Regions from separate parts of the Homo sapiens genome. Here region 2 is linked to region 1. Evidence: promoter capture Hi-C in 16 types of primary human blood cells and fetal thymus (Javierre and others, 2016). All regions are on one chromosome and are shown on one strand. Each heading gives the region's core, a stretch centred on a gene start or on the middle of the fragment in contact. The rest is flanking DNA. Distances are from core to core; before and after follow the strand shown.

Region 1 (4,285 bases), core at 561-3,060:
TATATTTCAACATTTTCCACTGCTTCGGTTTAAGTTTAAATTGACTGAAACTTTAAAATCCAATTCTTTAATTACACTAGCCATATATGTGCTTAGTGTATTGGACAACACAGGTCTAGATGCTAGTTTGTAGTATAGTGTTTGTAGTATCGCCCTGTCAGGTGATACTGAGTTGCAGATTCACAAACCTGCAGCAGTCTAATACTGTTCAGAAAGACGAAACTGTGGTGGTCCTGATGGCCTCAAGTTCCAAATACAGTTTTGAACTAACTGACCCCTTCACCTATTTTTATCAAAACTTGCAGTGCAAATCAACGTTCAGTAGATTCAGCCCCACTAATGGACCTGCACAGTATCATGACAATGTTCACAACAATGTGCCCAGTGACCATCAAATTCTAAAGTAGTCTGTGAATTAGATTTCCGACTTCTATTTTGGTAGTTTTGTGTTTACTCTTTCAATAACTGAAAATAAACCACCACGGAAGAATCCTGAAAATACAAAGGCATCCTTATTCTCTCAGTCCTGAGAAAGTGTTAAAACTAGCCCATCCAGCAGCAACCTGGAATTTGGGCCTATGTGGTCCACACACTTCCAAATACCACAAGGAACTAGACTCACTTGTACGTCCAGGCACCGCCAGCCACTGTCTTCATGCAGGAACCACAGTGCCAGATCCCCACAGCTCGTCTCTTCATCTTGGTCTATAAAAGAGAACCAATTTTCACTATGAACCAAGTAAGTATTTTCTCTTACAAGCATCCAGAAGTCTAAATTTGGATTCACCTTATTGTCAGGGATGTGAAAGCCTCCCTTTCTCCCTCAAAAACAAAACAGGGATTGCTGTAATGCAGTATTTTGCACATAAACGTTCAAACCTTTATCAAACAAAAATCCCTCGCAGAACAAGTAGAATGGTATTAGATGCACAGACATCTTGGGAGTTGGTGCAGAAACATCAGTAGACAAAACTGATGGAATCATTTCCCACAAAGCAGGTTTGGCTTAGGCTGGGGGCACTCTGTCAAATGATTATTTTACCCATTAACGTTTAAGCGGTTTTCTTTAAATGAAAAACGTCTCACAAAATCTGAAGTTACCATCAACACTTTTATCTTAAAACTCATAATCAACGGTATGAGTAATTCCAACTGCCCACCAGCACACGGCTTATAAAATACCTTGAAGTCAGGCCTCACTTGGGTAAGAAACCTGCCCTCCCTCTCCTCTCACCAGAGACTTTGCCTTACTTACTTTGCCACAGAAAGAGCAAGTGTACTTGGCGTGCTGGCTGATTTCAATTTTCTTCACCATTTTCCGGAGGGAGGCCCCATAGCGGGTCCCGTATTTACCGACGATCCCGACTTTCTTGGTACGTTTGGCCTGTTTAGAGTGAAGGGAGAAACCAGTGATAGACCTGGAACCCAGGCAGGCCCTGGAGCCTCCACACACCGTTCCTCCACCTCACTGACGTGTGACCGACATGTGAATTACATATGACCTAGTTTTCCCTAAATTCAACCCAACGAAACCAGTGCCCAGGGCTGGCCGCGCGCTCCGAAGGCCCGGCGTTAACCCGGCTGGAGCGCGCCAGGCCCAGCCAAGGCGCCCCCGCCCCTCCGCCTTGGGGAGCTTCCGACAATGGTGTCTCCTGCAAAGGCATGGAGACAGGAGAGAACACGGGGTAAGGCAGGAGAGGAGATGGGTGCGGGAGAAGAAAACAAGGACAGATGCAGGCAGATAGAGTTCTAGGCCGCACAGAGACCCACACTCACCATGTCGCCGCGACCTAGGTCCGAGCCCAGAAAGGAAGAGACGCGGTGCGCAGGCGCGGTATTAGGCGGACGAGCGGAAGTGGCTGGTAGAGGCCTAGCTAGGAACTGAGCTCTATGGTTTGGGCGTTTTCAGGCGGCCTCCTGAGAAATGTTTGCAATTGTAAGGCGTCTCTCTCATCCAGGTTTACCCAGATTCGCAAACTATGGCGACAAACAACCATAGCAGAAGCATGTCCGGATTATTTCACATATATCACAAAATCCTGCAAAGGTACGAGTTCCTCCATTCGATGCACAGCACTTGGCTTGGAGAAGTGCATAAATCTTACATTTGTGGGGCCGGGCGCGGTGGCTCACGCTTGTGATTCTAACACTTTGGGAGGCGGGGTGGGTCAGGAGTTCGAGACCAGCCTGGCCAGCAGGGTGAAACCCCGTCTCTATTCCAAATCTCATTTATTTCCCCCTCTGCATTATGCTCTCTAAAAGTGGCTGACTGTGCAGGATGCTAGCGACAGTGGTGACTAAAATCCAAGGTTCCATTCCCAGAACAAGTTGCAGGCCAGCTGCAAACGATCATATAGCCACATTAAGAAGTTAGACAGTTTCAAACTGGTCAGAGTTCTGAAGGAAAGGACGATGGTTCTGCTCGCGACTAATTCAGAAGAGCCTGGTGTTTCCTGAGGAAAGTCTGAGATTGGAAGGCTGGGGAAAAGTTAACAGTCACCTTGGAGTTTTGTGTTCCAGCTGCTGCATCTCAGTGCGGATGGCCTGCCTTCCACTTCATTTCAGAACTCACTTCCATGGCCCCACACTAGGCTGTTAAGACAGCTTCCTGGTCCAGGCCTGAACCCTTAAACTCCAACATCTTACCCTTTACCCACCGTCAATTCTCTGTCCCTCCAGGTCTCTCAAAGGGGTCAGCAGGGAAGAATTGGATTTCTGGTTGAGGCCGGGGGTGGGGAGGGTGTGTTCTGGAACTAGACACATGATCTTCTTTCTTCACGTAGAACACACACACTAGGAAGTTTGGTTGCCTTTTTTCAGGGGATGGCTAATCCAGAGAATAAGAAGCTCAGAAAACTACTGGAATAAGAGTGTAAGAGAGAATCCATGATTAGAGGGCCAAGAAAGACCATGGGAGCTGAAAGGCATTGTGTGGCCCTGATTCCAATCAGAAGTCCGGTAACAAGTAGCTTCCGTTCCCAAAGCTTAATATTAACTGTCTCAAATAATTTTGCACCTGTTCACTTTTCCTCACAATTGTATTAAAGTCAACTTGCATACCTGGGCTGAGGTGGGAAGATCATTTGAGCCTGGGAGGTTGAGGCTGCAGTAAGCTGTCATCACGCCACTGCAGTCCAGCCTGGACAACAGAGTGAGACTCTGTCTCAAAAAATATATATGAATCAAATCAAATCAAAGCAACTTGCAAACAGCTATGTACTTCATATGGTTACAATTGTTGGAGGGTAACACATGGTAGGCACTGAGTATTTTATGTGGATGTTCTCATTTAATTTTCCATTATCCTTTATGATAGGAATGATTATTATCTTCATTACTAAGAAAAAGAGAGGAAGTCTCATGTAATGATTAGGAACTTAGAGGCTCTGGATTCAGTATGGGTTCAAAACAGAACTCTGCTATTTACCAGCTGTGGGACCTCTGACAAGTTATTATATACTTTTCTTTCTTTTTTCTTTTTCTTTTTTTTTTTTTTTTTTTTTTTTTTTTGAGACAGAGTCTCTCTTGGAAAAGATTCTTTGAGACCAGGAGTTCTAGGCAGCCTGGACAATATAGCGAGACCCCATCTCCACACACACAAAAAAATAATAGGCCAGGTATGGTGACACACATCTGTGGTTCTAGCTGCTCAAAAGGCTGAAACGTGAGGATTGCTTGAGCCCAGGAGTTCAGAGGTTACAGTGAGCTATGATCACACCATTTCACTCCAACCTGGACAACAGAGTGAGATCCTTTCTCAAAACAAAAACAAAAAAAGAAAGAAAAAAGAAACTCATCTCAGGGAAGTTAAGAAACTTGCTCAATGTCACACAGCAATTAGAACTCAAATCTGGTCTGTCTGATCCCAAAGTTAGTTCTCCTAATTGCTAGCTTGTACTACGCCAAATCATAATATTTAGTGCACTGAAAAAGCACATCAGAAAACATAGTTGAATTAAAATCAGGTCCCTGGCACTCAGTCTGGGCCAGGATCTGTAACTACCTTGTGGTTTGACTTTAGGTAAGCCACAGTCCCCACATGGAGAACCACCTCCCCACCTCCCAGCAGCCACCATCTTTATTTACAAGGAGCTGGACCAGGTGGTCTTCAAGGTCCTGTCCAGTTCTTCCCTCCTATGATTCCAGGAAGAGCTTCCAGACTTTGAGTGCCACTGGGGCAGTGACCCACCATGTGCTTTATGTCAGCACATCTTGCACAATTTTGTGGAATAAAGGTAGTTGTCTCTTTATCCTCCCCAATCTGTTATTCCAGCTCTGGCTGTGT
Region 2 (4,285 bases), core at 1,208-3,707, 2.2 Mb before region 1:
GGAATTTGCACCCAAATAATCCAACTTCAAAGCTTATACTCCATAAGAAGTATGAGGGAGTCAGTACCTTAGGAATACAAACTGGTATAAATACATTCCTTCTAGATCCATTTTCCACTGGAGTTGGGGGTACCAAATCCCACCCAAAAGGTATCCCTCTTTGTGCAACACCTGAGCACTGTATTTTCTTCGACCCTTGTACACCCTCCCAAAAGAGCCTTCTCCAATCATCTCCAACACGTGGTACTTTTCCATGACAGAGGTTTCAGGATCTCTTAGAAGGAAGAAAGTAGAGACGGTGAAGAGCTATAGATCCAGGGACAGTTCCACAACATCTGGGACGCCTAGTTGGGGCACGGGAAAGGAAAAATGTTAGCCACCTTGCCTTTTCCTCTTTTTCACAATAAAGCCTCAAAAAACATGGGAGGGTGGAATGCATGCAAAGATGATGCGCTCTTGGAACAAACAGAGCTTCTCTTTGTAGTTCCTCCCCACTTTCATCCTCCTGTCCCCAACCCGGCCCCATGCCCAACTAACACCTGGTTCCCCTTCTCCCTCACCCAGCCTGGCTCACTCGACCCTACTCTTTCAACCTAGCCTCGCCCAACCAACCCTGCTCCTTTGAGTCTCCCCCAAGTTCCTGCCACTCCCAGACTCCTCAGCACCCGCTCTCAGACCCCCTGGCCCGTGCGCTTCGCAGGCCAGAGCCCCTCTCTCACCCCCAGCCTAGGAGCTCCAAGCTCCTCAGGCCAAGGGACGGATTCCCTGGCGTTTAGCCCCATCTCTTCTGGCTGCCTGCATACGTTGCCTGACTTATAATTCTTCTCCACCCGCCTCTCCCTCCGGTCTCTTTCGGCTCCCTTTCTTACAATTTTACTCGCTAGAACTGGTGAGAAGTTCAGAGGACAAAGGCGCTCAGAGGTGTGGAATGGACGGCGGACCACACATGGGCACTTCCTGGGACACATCCGAACTGCCTCAGGGCCATCAGGCCCGGCTAAGGACCCGGAGTCTGCGGTTGCCTAGAAACGACGCTAGCTGCCCACCCCTCTTAGTTTTCCGCCTCCGACTTCCCTAAGGGCATTTCCGGTTCCGGCTGCGGGCCGGTGAAGATATGGCGGCGTCTGCGTCTGCAGCTGCAGGGGAGGAGGACTGGTAACTTTGGGGGCATGGGCTTTGGCTGACAGCCTGGATCTAGTCCAGAGGCCTAGCAGCTGTCGCAGACGGTCCGTACGGCGGGCGTGTGGGGTGGAGCGAGGGATGAGGGATGGCAGAGATGCTGACATCTCTGGGAAAGCTGGACTGGGGAACGGGAGGGTGGAGGGGCGCTGATCTGAGTGAGAGGAGAACGGGTCGGCGCCCGCCAGGCCAGTTCAGGCCTCGCCGCATCCGGTTCGATCCCTTTTCCTCCAGCTTCACGCCATCCCTTTCTCTCCTCCTCAAATGAATTTTCTCAGGGGCTTTGGGGGATGCCTGCCCATCAGACCTCCCCATCTCCCTTTCTCCTCTCAGAACCAGTGCCCTCCAGTTCCGGCCCCCTTTCCCCTTGGATCAGCCTTTTTCCGCCGACGCTTTCCTCAGCCTTCTCTCTCTCACACAGCACTAGTGAGGACTATTGTATGAATAAAGCTTTACACTTCATATAAAGTCCCTCTAGTCCTTCTCTCAAGCATTCTTAACCAAAGACTAGAACATGGAAGGACTCTGGGATTTGGAAGTAGGATCAATGTGGGTTAACTCCACATTTTATTAGCTGTGTGATGCTGAACAGGCCATCTAGCTTCTGTGAGTCAGTGTCCTCAGCTGTAAAAAAAAAAAGTGGGTGTGGCATTTACCTCAGAATAGTTGAGAGGATCACGACGGATTTGTAATATACTTAAGTCTGTTTTTTGTTTTGTTTTGTTTTGTTTTTTGAGACAGAGTCTCACTCTCGCCCACGCTGGAGTGCGGTGGTGCGATTACGGCTCACTGCAGCCTCGACCTCCCCAGGCTCAGGTGATCCTTCTGCCTCAGCCTTCCGAGTAGCTGAGACTACAGGTGTGTGCCACCATGCCTGGCTAATTTTTGTATTTTTTGTAGAGACGGAGTTTTGCCATGTTGGCCAGACTGGTCTTGAACCCCTGGGTTCAAGTGATCCTCCCACCTCAGCCTCCCAAGGTGCTGGAATTACAGGCGTGAGCCACCACACCCGGCCTCCTTTTCATTAATAACTGAGGTGCAGGCACCTGGGAAGACTAGATGAGTCCCAAAGAAGTAAAGTGATTTGCCAAAAGATAGAAAATTATGAATAGAAATCCATATCTGTCTGACTCCACACCTTAGATTCTTTGTACTAGGACATTCTTCAGTCCCCACTCCCCCAATTTTTTTTTTTTTTTTTTTTTTTTTTGAGACGGAGTCTTGCTCTGTCGCCCAGGCTGGAGTGCAGTGGCGCAATCTCGGTTCACTGCAAGCTCCGCCTCCCGGGTTCATGCCATTCTCCTGCCTCAGCCTCCCGAGTAGCTGGGACTACAGGCGCCCGCCACCACACCCAGCTAATTTTTTGTGATTTTTAGTAGAGACGGGGTTTCACCCTGTTAGCCAGGATGGTCTCTATCTCCTGACTTCATGATCCACCCGCCTCAGCCTCCCAAAGTGCTGGGATTACAGGCCTGAGCCACCGCGCCCGGCCCCCCTCCCCCATTTTGTTGTCACCACCTTACCACCATCCCATCCAGGACCCATATAACTAGGGTGGGCGAAGTATTGAAGGGCCACTTGACTGAGGCTACACCTCAATGTTACATTGGTTCAGGGAGCCCAGCTAGTACTGGCCGTTATTAAGAGTATCTAGACTACTGGTTTTCAAAGTGTTCAGGGAAACTTCTTTTTTTTTTTTTTTTTTAAGAGACAGAGTCTTACTTTGTCACCCAGGCTGGAGTACAGTGGCAAGATCATGGCTCACTACAGCCTCGACCTCCTGGGCTCCCGTGATTCTTCTGCCTCAGTCTCCCAAGTAGCTGGGACCACCGTGTCCAGTTAATTTTTTATTTTTTGTAGAGATAGTGTCTCGCTTTGTTGCCCAGGCTGGTCTCGAACTCCTGGCCTCAAGTGATCCTCCCACCTCAGCCTCCCAAAGCGCTGGGATAACTTACAGTTTACCTGTTCAGGGGAACTTTTAAGATTCAGGGGAGACACCTTGAGCCATGGAGACAGCAACAATGAGTGCAGCAGCCTGTAGTACTGTGAGACTCCCACTCCCATGTCAGCCAGAACTACACTGTTATCTGTGAGGTGTGAAGCTTTATATTTTATATTTTGAAGTTTCTGCCTAAGACTTAACAACACTGACATAGGTCGTGCTGGGGCAGCCTTACTCTTAGAATGAAGAGGGAGCAGTGTGAGAAAGCAAAGTGTGCATTTTTCCATGTATCACTTGGTAGAGCTGTAGACACAAACTGATCACTCAGCTTCAATTTCATTACAACTGCTGTTTCTATGCTTAAGTATGTGTGTCCCTTGATTTACATCAGAACCATGGATCCTAACCTCAACAGGCTGATCTAGATCAACCAGACAGCCAGGTCATAAATACATCCAGAGTACTCTATTACCTCCTTCCTTCCCTCTTTCCTTCTAAGGGAGAAGGTTATATACAGACAGGAAAAAAAGAGGACGTAGACTAGCTACGATAGCCCAGATACTATTAGGTACTTTATGTAAACAAATCACCTTTTATCCTCACAATAACCCTAGAGAGTAGGTGTTATTATCTATATGTGACAGACAGGATAACTTAAGCTTACAGAGAGGTCACGTCCCAGATTGCATAGCTTGTAAGTGATTGGTACCTGTTAACTAACTCCGAGGCTGCTGGCTCTTCCATTACAACACAGCCTTTATACCACCCTAAATATGTTGTGTTGAGGTTGCTATCTCCTTTAAGAAGGCTTAGGGTGACTGGTGTTAAAACTGTATGTAGACAGTAGCCAAGGCACTGGGATCCACACTGGACAGTGACGTAGGGAAAGGTTGGAGTAATATTGGTAACGTTAATGCTAATGAATGAGTGCCATATCTCTAGACCAGAGATTCAGCCACTAAGGGGAATGAAACTTAAACAGGGAGTCAGGAAACCTGGCTCTGGGCCTAGTTCTACCTATGTTAAGCCTTGGTTAGTCATTTTACTTCTCTAGAATCCACTTCTTCATCTGTTGGCAGAAATGATGCCTAAAATTCTGATTTCCATGCCTTCTATTTGGCCAGTTGACAACTTAAGGTAACATATTCCTTGTTTTTAAGGAGT

The links. The method cuts DNA at HindIII sites, captures the fragments that hold promoters and counts their contacts. A CHiCAGO score of 5 or more calls a contact.
Region 2: a contact is called between a fragment that was not itself captured here and the fragment with the promoter of RPL37A in region 1, in 1 of 17 cell types (total B cells). The highest score is 5.3, in total B cells.

What each region holds. Positions count from the first base shown.
Region 1 is chr2:216,496,369-216,500,653 of GRCh38, reverse strand. RPL37A (ribosomal protein L37a) reads right to left here and starts at 1,810. Exons shown (of 4, transcript NM_000998.5): 1 at 1,777-1,810; 2 at 1,256-1,384; 3 at 623-705. The coding sequence starts at 1,779. RPL37A-DT (RPL37A divergent transcript) reads left to right here and starts at 1,902. Exons shown (of 4, transcript NR_183317.1): 1 at 1,902-2,047. RefSeq lists enhancers at 1,734-2,123, 2,304-2,393. The HindIII fragment of the contact is 3,327 bases long and covers 1-2,986 here.
Region 2 is chr2:218,668,800-218,673,084 of GRCh38, reverse strand. RNF25 (ring finger protein 25) reads left to right here and starts at 1,083. Exons shown (of 10, transcript NM_022453.3): 1 at 1,083-1,155. The coding sequence starts at 1,115. STK36 (serine/threonine kinase 36) reads right to left here and starts at 999. Exons shown (of 27, transcript NM_015690.5): 1 at 870-999; 2 at 172-344. The coding sequence starts at 255. RefSeq lists an enhancer at 1,079-1,178. The HindIII fragment of the contact is 1,652 bases long and covers 1,632-3,283 here.